3 separate regions of the Homo sapiens genome follow, and regions 1 and 2 are each linked to region 3. Evidence: promoter capture Hi-C in 16 types of primary human blood cells and fetal thymus (Javierre and others, 2016). All regions are on one chromosome and are shown on one strand. Each heading gives the region's core, a stretch centred on a gene start or on the middle of the fragment in contact. The rest is flanking DNA. Distances are from core to core; before and after follow the strand shown.

The links. Contacts are between HindIII fragments. The CHiCAGO score rates a contact against its expected background, and 5 or more counts as called.
Region 1: a contact is called between a fragment that was not itself captured here and the fragment with the promoter of PNPT1 in region 3, in 1 of 17 cell types (megakaryocytes). The highest score is 5.9, in megakaryocytes.
Region 2: a contact is called between a fragment that was not itself captured here and the fragment with the promoter of PNPT1 in region 3, in 1 of 17 cell types (endothelial precursors). The highest score is 5.0, in endothelial precursors.

The regions. Positions count from the first base shown.
Region 1 is chr2:55,963,443-55,967,435 of GRCh38, reverse strand. It overlaps MIR217HG (MIR217 host gene), which reads left to right. Exons shown (of 3, transcript NR_126406.1): 3 at 3,554-3,993. The region is part of intron 3 of LOC105374690 (a long non-coding RNA gene); the gene reads right to left. Among named protein-coding and RNA genes, the nearest start is that of MIR217, 18 kb to the left of the region's middle. The HindIII fragment of the contact is 1,085 bases long and covers 1,227-2,311 here.
Region 2 is chr2:55,997,157-56,001,364 of GRCh38, reverse strand. All of the region lies in intron 2 of MIR217HG (MIR217 host gene), which reads left to right. All of the region lies in intron 3 of LOC105374690 (a long non-coding RNA gene), which reads right to left. It overlaps MIR216B (microRNA 216b), which reads left to right and starts at 570; the gene lies at 570-651. The HindIII fragment of the contact is 2,789 bases long and covers 1,007-3,795 here.
Region 3 is chr2:55,691,583-55,695,928 of GRCh38, reverse strand. It overlaps PNPT1 (polyribonucleotide nucleotidyltransferase 1), which reads left to right and starts at 2,085. Exons shown (of 28, transcript NM_033109.5): 1 at 2,085-2,266. The coding sequence starts at 2,106. RefSeq lists enhancers at 1,896-2,045, 2,076-2,135, 2,146-2,265 and a silencer at 2,836-2,895. The HindIII fragment of the contact is 6,564 bases long and covers 1-4,346 here.

The DNA of each region.
Region 1 (3,993 bases), core at 520-3,019, 270 kb before region 3:
TTTGGGCCGGACAATTTTGTGTTCCATTTAGTGTAAATGAGAAACAATCCAGTATACGGAAACAGTAAGTATGGAACAAAGTTACCTCTTTTAAAAAGAAAAAAAATAATTTTATCCCTCTTTGACTGTTTTTAATCATGTTTAATCCATCTAATTGATCATTGCTTTATCTACATGTTTTCGCTGTATAATTACACCATTTTCTCCCTCCAAGGAACAAGACCATATTATATCCCTTTATACAATCTTGATAATTTACACAAAGGAATAAAAATCTGCTTATAATAAAATGGAGATTTCTATTTCTAATTTTTGGAGTGGTAAATGAAGGTATCTGATCTCACACCAAGTGCCTTTTAAAATCATTCGCAAAATAAAAGCACTTTGAAAAGGGTTATTTCCAGTGCAAATATAGTCACCTGCTCTTGTGATCAATAAACCTCTAAAACATTATACTAATATTTACAGTATTAATGAACATGTGCACAAAGCCTTTTTACACGTGGTAAAACTCATTTAATCATCACACACATGTGAGGTAGCTTTTGGGATTATTCCCATTTCACAGATGAGGAAAATGAGAATCAGGGAGGGTAAGTAACTTGCCAGAGCTCCTTCAGCCAGGAAGTACAGGACTCTAGATATTAAGCTTATTAAAGAGCTCTTGCTGAACATTGATTCAGACACTGACACTTGGCTCTGGATGGATGGGCTCAGTGTTGCTCTGCATCTGGATTACTTCCAAAGGTCCATCTGTGAGCCTGCCTGACCCCCGGGATGGGGCGGCGCAGCCTTTGCAGCCTTGGCACTCCATCTGGAGAGACTGAAAGGGAACAGCAAGGTGGTGACTCAGTGGCCTTGACTGTCCCTCAGTCTCCTGGGAGACAGAGAGCAAAGTGATAAAGTGACAGAGTGGGAACTGTAGTTCTCGTTTCTCTATTTGTTTTCCACTTGATTCTTAAAAACAGACCTATTAATCATTTAGTTCATGACTGGTAATTCCACTGACTCCCAACACATTTGAGTCAATGAAGCAAAAACTAGAAAGTTGTGTGTTCAAACTTCTCAGATGGGAGAAGAATTAAAATCCTTTGAAAACATTTCACCGGCCAGCAGAAAGACTCACATGTTTTTCTGCTTCAGAGTTGTAGATGGATGTGACTTAAGCCCTAACTGGGAAAAACTTTGTGTGATTTATAACAGCAGATAGATATTCTGAGTAAGCTTCTCATACTCTTTTATTCCACCTACCAAAAACAAAAGCTGTTTTCAGCAGAGCCCAATGAGGTGAAAAGGGCTTTCCAAGGAAACTGTTGCGTGTGCTTCTTGATTCTGTCCTGATTTGGGAAGTTCATCTAAGCTGAAATTACTTTGTGGAGCTGACAGGAAGTTTGTCCAATGACTTTTGCCTTTCACAGCCCTGCTCTCCTTATCTCTACAGACACGCTTCCCACTTTCTTTCTTTTCTGGCTCCCTTCCTCCTTCCCTTCACACACACCTTCACACCTCCCATCTACTCTGATTGTATTAATTGATACCATAAAGAACACTGTTATAAAGGGAGGCACAAGTGTTGTAATATTTGAGGGGCTTTTAGTGCAGGAATTAAAGGCTAATACTTGGCCTGGCCAGACCTATCATTGCATGCTATGTCCAGACTCTCCAAAACTGTGAGAGCCTACTTTGAGTCCCTCTTTCATATCTTTGTAGCATTTGAGTTCACTGAATATGTTGGGAGCTTCAGATAGAAAAGGACCCTATCCCTCCCCTCAGGGAGCTGATGCTTGCCCAGCAGGGACAGTAGGTTAATGAGGAGCAAAGCTCTCCCTAGTTAATCTGGCTCCAAGTGTAGTGTGATGGGTCCCCTACCAGGTTACTTAAGGGTATATGTCCACTGCCTGAACCTTAAAGGCCAGGTGGTGAGCTAAGGCTGTCGTGCCCAGCCGAGGAGCAGGTGTCTCTGAGAACACAAACATACCAAGGAAAACAGTCCCATCACACAGGCACAGTAGGCAAAGAGCCAAATAATTAGCTTAAATGAGAGATGGGAAGTGGGATGAATCTCTAGAGCTGTCCTGCTGCTGCCCAGGAGTGCTCTGTAAGTAAGTCTTAATAAACCCATCTACTCACCAAGCTGGACTTGTCCAAAACATTTTGGTCTCCTGATACCTTCCCAGTTTGGGGGGTGGGTGGTGGGGAGGAAACATTACAGTCCTAAGTTTTTCTCATAACACCAAGTGGATTCATTTAGAAGGCAATTTCCTAGCAAACATCAAATTCACAGCTCTCCCTGGATCAAGAGTGGTAAGCTTTCTAGTAAAATGATCTGTTTGGAATCAGATCTACTTAAGTCTAAATCCCTTTTCTGCCTTGGACAAGTCACTGAATCTCATTGAGCCTCAGTTCTCTCTACTATAAAATGCAAATGACATCTAACTCAAGACTCTACATGAGGATTAAATGAGGAAATGTTATACAAAGCACATGGCATAATTCCTGGCAAACAGGAGATACTCAATAAAGGGTAGTTTCCCTTCTTCTTCCTTCTCTCTTCCCAGACCTCACAAGAAGAGGAGTGTGGCCTCTTAGTGAGATGATATAAAAGAGACTCTAACAATATTAAACACTTCAGTAGCACCTACTACATCCCAGGCACTATTCTAAGCACATCTGTATTTCAGCTCATATAAGTCTTCCCTAAAACCCAATAAGATAAGAGCTATTATCATCTCTACTTCATAAATGAGATAGCAGGTAACTTTCTGAAGTCACACAGTTAGAATGTATGTGATGCGGCTATGATTTGATCCCAGTTTATCTAGCTCTTAACTATCACATTATTAGGAAACAGATAGTGAGAGAGGTGCTAACTGTATCTGGAACTCAAGTACACAAAACAAGCAGTCCTCAGACAATGAGCTCTGTTTGATTTGCACAGTGTTTTAAAAATCAAGTCTATATTTCTGACTGCTCTCAAAAAAGTTGGAAGATCTGGCACTAGGCAGCTCACATACTGATGTGGCAACAAGCCTTTGACTGGTGGCTGCTGTCTGGACTGAGGTCCCCAGTTCACCAGTCTCCAGTACTCACAGTCGTATTACAGGGCCGGCTTCACTTTTGACCTGCACATACATTTGAGCTTGTCGTCCAGAATTAGGTAATGATGCTAAACCGTAAAGACACAAGAATCGTGTTCAATAACGTGCACCCAATGGTTAAAATGTTTGAATTAAATGAAGGAAAAAAATGAACGTAGGAAAGAGGTCTGCGTGAAAAGCAATCAACAACCAGGTTCAAACACAACCACGCAGAAAATGCCTGGATAAGCCTTTGAGCCCTATGTGCAGAAATTGTAAACTCCTGCTCTTTTCCATATCTCCACACCTAAATAAAAACCTGAAAATGCAAGTTTCCTTACAGTCCATGGAGCAAAGACTCTTTTGCCTTCAATGTTAAATGTGTTCCTCTTTGGCATAGCTAAAAGAGGGAGTTTAAATTTTCATGTACTACTTAACCCAAACAATATTTTTTTCTCTCTCTTTTTTTTTTTTAGCTCTTTAGGCCTTAATGATTGACATGATCTTGGAAAACAGGTATGTAGCAAAACTCTCCTAGAAACCTGAAAGATGTGGCAAGAAGAAAACATGGAGCCTTTTCTGAACAAGCCTATGAGAGAAGAAGAATCACTTCAATTTATTAAGTGTGGATTCTGGGGCTAAAGAACTTACCTACAACCACACAGCCAGCAAATTACTGACCCAGCATATTCTGAACCCAGGTCTTTATTCTTTCCAAAACTTCACAGCACCTTCCTCAGAGCATCTCTACATGAAAATCTGTATAAAGAAGTGATCTGTGGTGTCGCCATTTGTATCAAAATGGTATCACAAACTTATTTAAAAGGCTTCATCTAAAAGTCTTCAGAGTTTTGGCCAGGGAAGAGCTCTAATATCACACATTAATAACCTTACCTTTGTAACATGTAAATTGTTT
Region 2 (4,208 bases), core at 1,152-3,651, 310 kb before region 3:
GTATTATCATAAGACCATTATTAGGCAGAAGAAAGATGGAGAGAATAAAAGTAAAAAGCACATCTCCTCATTCTACTCATCTAATCTTGTTATTACTTAGGCATAACTAAATTACAAAAGACTAAGAAACTCAACTGCAAAGTCTAACGTTAGATAAAATTGCTTGAAATGCAAGGATATTTACCTGGATTGACCATAAGGCTTTTGGTGTGACTAACACACTGGTAAAATAAGCACATATGAAACAAACAGCATAATTTGAGAAAAAAAAATGAATGATGGCATAAGAAGCCTCGTCTTTCTTCCATGACCAAGGTATACTAGTCTCATCCACTGGTTGTGGCTTGGGAAACTTCACTTTTCATCTTTTCCTTCATTCTCTATGGAGATGTGTGGCAAAATTAGAGAGTATCCATTCTCATTTATGCACCTATCTGAATCCCAGCTATAACTCCTACTTCCCATCAATTTTAATCTTGAATAAATATAGTTTTAAAATTTAGCAAGACCAGAAAGATCACTGTAGAATGACGACAACTTTTTTCTATCTTAAGTACAACTTCAAAGTGGCAGACTGGAAAATCTCTGCAGGCAAATGTGATGTCACTGAGGAAATCACACACTTACCCGTAGAGATTCTACAGTCTGACATCTTCAAGCATCGAACCATTTCATCAACTATGCTTTTGTTATAAGCAGTTCTTTGGCCTGGAATAAATCTAGCATGGCCAAAAAGCCAAGCTATAGCCCACTTACTGAACTTTAACTTCTTCTAAACCAAGGTGACTACATGCCTCGTGATGGTTGAATCCCACTAAATTAAATTTTAAAATAAGAAGGTTGTTTGTAACATGGCTTAAAGCAGTTGTTGTCAAAGTTTGATTCCCAGACTAGCATCAGCAGCGTCACCTAGGAACCTGTTAGAAATGCAAATTCTTGCACCCCACTAGAGGCCTCCTGAATCAGAAACTCAGAATGGGCCCTGCAATCTGTGTTTCAACAAGCTTTCCAGGTAATTCCGATTCATGCTCAAGTTTGAGAACCACTGGCTTAGAGAGAGCAAAAGATTATAACTGGAACACTAAAATAATCAGACAAAATAATATGTATTCATAAAAATATTGTCTAGAATACATTTCTAAAGTAGTGGTCTTAATAAGTATAAGCATTAATAATAATGGAAAGAAACATTTTCATTTAACTCTTACTTTGCCAATAGAATTGCTCAGATGTACTTATTTCCTTAGAAATAAGGAGTTAAGAAATCTTATTTAAGAGGAGAAAACGTTTTCATGTTTGGGAGGATTAAAAGGGTACTGACATCATTCAAGTCATGAGCCATAATTCTTATTAGATTTTATTGCTACATTCTTCGCACAGCTTTGGAAAGTTATTCCTAAGAGCACAAAATATGCACTTAGACTGCACACAGAGAAGGAAAATGCTCTCACAATGAAATTATTTTAGTCTGGCCCAGTAATATTTGAAAGACTCAAGATTTGTTCTCTCTGAAACATATCCTGTCAAAATAAGAGATGTTTGTTTAAATTTATAGTTTTCAACATCCTTTATAATTTTCCCTCCTAAGTTTAATTTGTCTGTAAGCAATCCAATTTCTATATACTAAAAAAATTATTTTCCCTTCTCCTCTAATATAATAAAAATGTCATGACTAAAAGGTAAAACAAAAAATAAAAAGTATTAAAAATTATTATTGAAATTGGTCTTCAATGACAATGAATAAAAGCCATAATTTGATTTTTATATATTTATAATAATGTTATGTATCTGTTAGTATCTGAAACATTGGTATGCCTGTTAATCAATAACTTCTGGTAGCATGTTAAAAATTCATCTTCAGTTTCATTCTTAGTGAATTCATTTGGATTATTTCTGGACCACACCAATTTCCCATGATGTGATGGAAAAAATTGTAACATTCAAAAATTGAATTAGATCACACACAAAATGTCAACTCACTCAGATTATAATAATAAGGTTTGGCTTGTTCATTGAAAAGTGGAGCCCAACTATGTCTAGAGTCTGTAAACTCAGTGCTGGAGATCAACAAGATGTTTTAGACACTTCACCACTTCAGGTGACCTGAAAGAAATACATTTCCTTAGATGAGGATAAGAAGGCTCTCCAAATATCAGGTTTCTTTGCTTTCATTGGATTTAATTCAACTCAATATTGATGCAATTGCTAATCAGAAGCTCCAACTAACAGTCTAAAATGCCTTTGATAGTAACAAAAGAAAAAAATTATTAACCATATATGCAATTTGTTACACAAAATATTTCAAAACATGAGGTTTCATTAAAGGAAACAATAAAAACATTGCTAGGAATTTAGCATCCTCCCAGGCAGTAGGAGTGTTTTAAGTATTTGATAACAACGACCAATAGTCACTATTGCATGAAGCACTCTACACATATTATTTAACTTAGTTTTCTCACAAACCCAGTGAAGAAGGTATTATTGGCACTCCTATTTTATAGTCCTTTTTTTCTCCTAACAAAGAAATTGAAGTTCAAAAAGACATAAATTGGAAGGAAATAAATTACCTAAATGTGCATAATTCTACATCTCAGACAAAATAGCACAGAGGAACAAGCATGGAACTACAAGTCAGGAAACTTAGGTTTTATGTTGTTTGTTTTTGTTTTTTCAAATTTTTATTTTGAAAAATGTATAGACTTACAAGCAGTTAAAAAATAATAATACAGGGGTTCTATGTACCTTCACTCAATTTCCCCCAACGGAACATCTTACATAACTATAGTAAAATATCTAAACCAGGAAATTGACATTTATACAACCCATAGATCTTATTCAGATTTCACCAGTGTACAAGCACTCATGTGTGTACATGTGTATAGTTCTGTGCAACTTGCCACATGTAGATTTGTGTAACAACTGCCATAGTCAAGATACACAATTATTTCATCACCACAAATATCCCGGTGTTACCCCTCTCTAGTTACACCTATCTCTTTACCCTCTTGATGCCCCATCCCTAACTCCTGGCAACCACTAATCTGTTTACTATCTCTATAATTTTGTCATTTTTAGAATGTTTATAAATTTAATCATATAGTAGGTAACCTTTTGAGATTGAATTTTTTTACTCAGCTTAATTCTTTTGACATCCATCCAAGCTGTTGCATGTATCAATAGTTTGTTCCTTTTTACTGTTGAGTAGTATTTCATGATATGGATGCAGCATAGTTTGTTTAATGATTCACCCATTGAAGGACACTTAGTTTGTGTCTGTGTCTTGGTATTACAAACAAAACTACTACAAACAATATAGTCTAAGATTATTGTGTGAGCATAAATTTTCATTTTTCTGGGATAAATGTCAAGAGATGTGATTGTTGGGTCATATGATAAATGCATGTTTACTTTTTGATTGTTATTACTTTTTTAAAAAATTATTTTAGATTCAGCGGTACATGTCCAGGTTTGTTACATGGATATATTGTGTAATGCTGAGGTTTGGGGCTTCTGTTGACCCTATCACCCAAATAGTGAACATAGTACCCAATAGGTAGTTTTTCAACTCTTGCCTCCCCACTCCTTTTGGGGTCCCCAGTGTCTACTGAGGAAATGTAGGTTTTCAGTATCTGATTCCCCTACTTAAATTAAGCCTCTCTGATTTTCCTGATCTTTACAACAGGCAAATTATTCACTTTCCTGCTTACTTCTCATGGCTGGTAAAATATTTGTTAATAATAAAGAACTGGAAAGATGTAGGACGTAGTCATTATGCTTAGAGTGAATGGGCAAGCTTTGAGGATAGCCTAGACTCCTGCTGCTGTTTCTCACCACCACAGTCTTCTCCCATTGCTGTGGAAACTGCAAGAGAGAGGATGCTGGTGGGAGGACTATTTTGCCTCCTAATCGGCCCCTCCTAAGGACACTGGCCATGTATCTTTGATCATTTTCCTTCCTGGGCGCAGCCATGCCTCTTTGCCCTAGCCTTAGTGATACTAAAGACACAACCCTTAATTAAGGCAAGCAAACAGCTTCTCTTGAAGGACTGTGCTAGATGACTCCACATGGTCTTTCTTCCTCTGATGGGGTAACAGGGTTCCCTCTCTTTTCTTTCAAAGGATGTCAGGGTTTTCAATAAATGTGTAACAAAAATACACCAATGCCCAATGGCCTATGCAGAAGTAAAGCTTGGCTACAATGTGCCATCT
Region 3 (4,346 bases), core at 836-3,335:
CATGATCCACCCGCCTCGGCCTCCCAAAGTGCTAGGATTACAGGCGTGAGCCACCGCGCCCGGCCGACACTTTTAATCCTTACAAAAACCCTATTAGATTCATATTACTATCTGTTTTTATGGGGAAACTGAGGCTCAGAGAGCTAGAGTCACACAACTGGTAATTAACAGAGACAAGATTGGAACCAGCTGGGACTAACTCCAAGTCTATGCTCTAAACTATTAGGCAATACTGCCCAAATGAAAATGATTACATAGTAATTAAGTATATTAACAAAAAGATGATTTTGTATTCTTACTCTATAAATCAAAAGTCATGTTCAATTGTGGCAAGTAGGTTTTCTGAGAGATTTATCTTCATGAGAGATTTCAATAGATTGGTCTGGAAAACTCTGTGGCAACTCAAGGTAAAGTAAAAGGGAGGAGACGCAAAAACTGCTTTAACACTAAAAATCTGTAAACAAAGTTAATGGTAATCCCTCTATTGGAATGGAAATCCCAAATCAGTAATAATAGCTCATGAAAGCAAGGTGTCAGAAAACTGCTTTGCCAGCAAATCATTTGTCTGTTTAGAGCTCATCATTCTTTTTTCTTTTTTAAATCATCACGGATCAACATTTTTAATTTTTTTTTTTTTTTTTTTTTTTTTTAGATGGAGTCTCGGTCTGGAGTGCAGTGGCGCGATCTCGGCTCACTGCAACCTCCGCCTCCTGGATTCAAGCGATTCTCATGCCTCAGCCTCTGGAGTAGCTGGGATTACAGGCACGCGCCACCACACCGAGCTAATTTTTGTATTTTTAGTAGAGACGCGGTTTCAGCATGTTGGCCAGGATGCCCTGGGTCTCTTGACCTCGTGATCCACCCGCCTCTGCCTCCCAGCGTGCTGGGATTACAGGCATGAGCCACTGCGCCCGGACTTTTTTTTTTTTTTTTTTTTTTTTTTTTTTTGAGACCGAGTTTCACTCTTGTTGCAATGACGCGATCTCGGCTCACTGCAACCTCCGCCTCCCGGGTTCAAGCGATTCCCCTGCCTCAGCCTCCCGAGTAGCTGGGATTACAGGCATAAGCCACCATGCCCGGCTAGTTTTGTATTTTTAGTAGAGACGGGGTTTCTCTGTGTTGGTCAGGCTGGTCTCGAACTCAGGTGATCCGCCCGCCTCGGCCTCCCAAAGTGCTGGGATTACAGGCGTGAGCCACAGCGTCCAGCCAACGTTTTTAATTCTTAAAACTGTGTTTGAATGAGTGTTGGGTTTTTGTTGTTTGGTTTTCTTTGGGGTAAGGCGGTTATCACCTTACACAAAAAATTTACATCATAATATGAAAATGCCCATTGGTTCATTCAAGGAAAAACATAAAGAATTTCTAACAGAATGGATTAATGGGGTGGAAGAAATTTATCCATTCTCTAAAAATTTTTCAAATCCCAAAAACTTTTTTTTTTCATTTTACAAAATATTTACTTCAAACAGTAGCTGGCATTTTGCATTTAAGAGTTCGACCAAAAGGGACAGAAATATAAATTGCTAATTATTAGCAATGGAAATGAAAATGAATCAGAAGTGACAATAAAGATTTCTAAAATTACAAGTCGATGAAAAATGAATTTACTGTAAATTGGTTAACACAAATCGCTGTAGTAACATATCTGCTATGTGAAATTTTTAAAATAAAAACCAGGGCGGAGAAGGGGAGAAGGAGATCTCTTTCCAAGGCCCACCACCCAAATTCTAATTCTTAGTTCACAGATCCAAATAATAATAATGTGTTGTTCTATGACTTCTAGTATTAAAAGTAAATATAAATTTACTCTGCATATTAAACATTTACATTATTCTAGGACTTCTCCTTTAAATTACGATAGTACACACACAAAAACCTTATTTATCTAATTGCCTTTCGTTGGCACATAAAGACAAAGATCGTTTGCAACATAATCGCGTTCTGATAGGTTTGACCCTCTCTAGTCTTCGTAGAAGGTGGCCAAGGTTTCCGTTACCCCGGCGTCCCTCGGGCACCGCGGAAACGAAACTCCATCAGGCTCCGCCCCACGGTCTGCGGAGTGAGCCAATCAGGGCACAGCCTGCGTTGACCGCGTGCCGGGTGTCATGGCGGCCTGCAGGTACTGCTGCTCGTGCCTCCGGCTCCGGCCCCTGAGCGATGGTCCTTTCCTTCTGCCACGGCGGGATCGGGCACTCACCCAGTTGCAAGTGCGAGCACTATGGAGTAGCGCAGGGTCTCGAGCTGTGGCCGTGGACTTAGGCAACAGGTAAGGAGTGACGTGCGTTCACTGTATTGTCATAAGGTGTCTTGTCCAGCCAGCTTGAGCGTATTCATCTCCCAGGGTAGAAACCCGGTATCCCAGCTCTATTTAATCTCTCCTTACCCTAAACCTAAATTCCAAATTTCCCTTTCCGGGTTTGGAATGTGTCTCCTCGGACCCTCCTTCCCGCGCTATGTCGTTCTCTCTGTTGGTGTGTGCCGGGCTTCTTTGCTCCATCCGACTCTGTCCGTCCACCTGACTTCCGATCTCTTTACTTTCCGGGACCACTGGGCTCTTAAGTGGGAAACATTCCACCTAGGAATAACGAGTTGACGTGGGTGAGACGAGGCCCCCCGGGATGCTGGCCCGGACCCTGGAAGCTGGGGCTCTGATGCCCCTCGAGCTGGGACACAGACCTCAGCAGAGGCTCCGGGTGGCTAGTGCACCACGGGTCCCCCACGTCCCACTCCTCGGGCTCCTTCAGCCTCCTCTTCACCAGGAGCCTACCTTGTAGAAGTTGAACACCAGGTCCAGTTCACAGACATTGTGGAAATATTCGTTTAAGACCTGGGAGAGGAAGGCAGAGATGGTAAGAGATGGACAGGGAGAGAGCCACACACGCACAGAGATGGGAACAAGGTCATCAGAAAGAGACAGCAAAAAAAAGAGACCAAGAGGGAGGCAGGGGAGAGAGAGAGACAGTGACAGGGAGAGAGGCAAGGAGACACACAGAGAGAAACAAAAGCAAAGATCGATGCAAAGAGATGGCAAAAGGTCAGGCGCTCACACCTGTAATCCCAGCACTTTGGGAGGCTAAGACGGAAGGATGACTTGAAGTTAGGAGTACAAGATATCATGTCATCCAATCTAATTGATTGCCTAAAGTGTGACCACTATGACCCTGGGTTAGGAGGAAAAGGAAAAGTCAGTTTTTTGAACGCCAGTTATATGATCCTCGCAATCTTTTTAAACCTGTCGTAAAGGTACTATTACCCTCATTTTATAGTTAAGACTACAGAGGCTCAAAAAAGGTTAGATAACTTTCTAAGAGTCTATAAAAAAGTTAGTATTATGGGACTAGGTGGTTTTTGAATTTCTGTTTTTTGCTTACAAAGCCCATACTTTTTTTTAGGGGACCGCTTTTTAAAAAAAAAGTTTGCTTTAATCGTTCTTAGAATAAATGGAATTGCTAATGCAAACTTCATATATCTAAATTTTTTACGTGTACTTTGAAAAAATTTGGACCCCAGTTCATACAAAAAGCAAAAAAATCATTTTGAATCCAGGTCTCGCACTCTAACTTTGATAAGTAGTTGACATTGAACAGGTTAATTCACCATTTTCTTGTGCAAAGTGTGGAGAGTGGATTCCATCAAGGGTCTGCAAACTTTTCTATAAAGGACCAGATAATATATATATTAGGCTTTTTGGGGTACACACTGTGTGTATGTGTTTACAAACCCTTTAGAAATATTTTAAAAAACGGCCGAGCACAGTGGCTAACACCTGTAATCCGAGCACTTTGGGAGGCTGAGGTGGGTGGATCTCCTGAGGTCAGGAGTTCGAGACCAGCCTGGCTACAATGGTGAAACCCCGTCTTTACTAAAAATACAAAATTAGCTGGGCGTGGTGGCAAGCACCTGTAATTCCATTTACCTGGGAGGCTGAGGCAGGAGAATCGGTTGAACCCAGGAGGCAGAGGTTGCAGTGGCAGAGATCGTGCCATTGCACTCCAGCCTGGGTGATAAGAGTGAAACTTTTGTCTCAAAAAAAAAAAAAAAAAAAAAAAATATATATATATATATATATATATATATATAAACATTTTTAATTGAAGAGTAATATAGAAATAGGCCACAAGCTGTAGTTTGGTCACCCCTAGACTAGGTTATCTCTAAGGCTTATTCCACTCCCAGCATTCATTAATTCTGATTTTTGAGGGAAGTGGACATCTCTTCCATTCTTCAAGGACTACACATGCTTCAAAGAAATGCCCAGAACATTTCATTCAACAGACACATACTGTGAGATAGGCATTAGATACTGAAAACAAGATGCAGCTGCTGCCCTCCATATTTTCCATAAA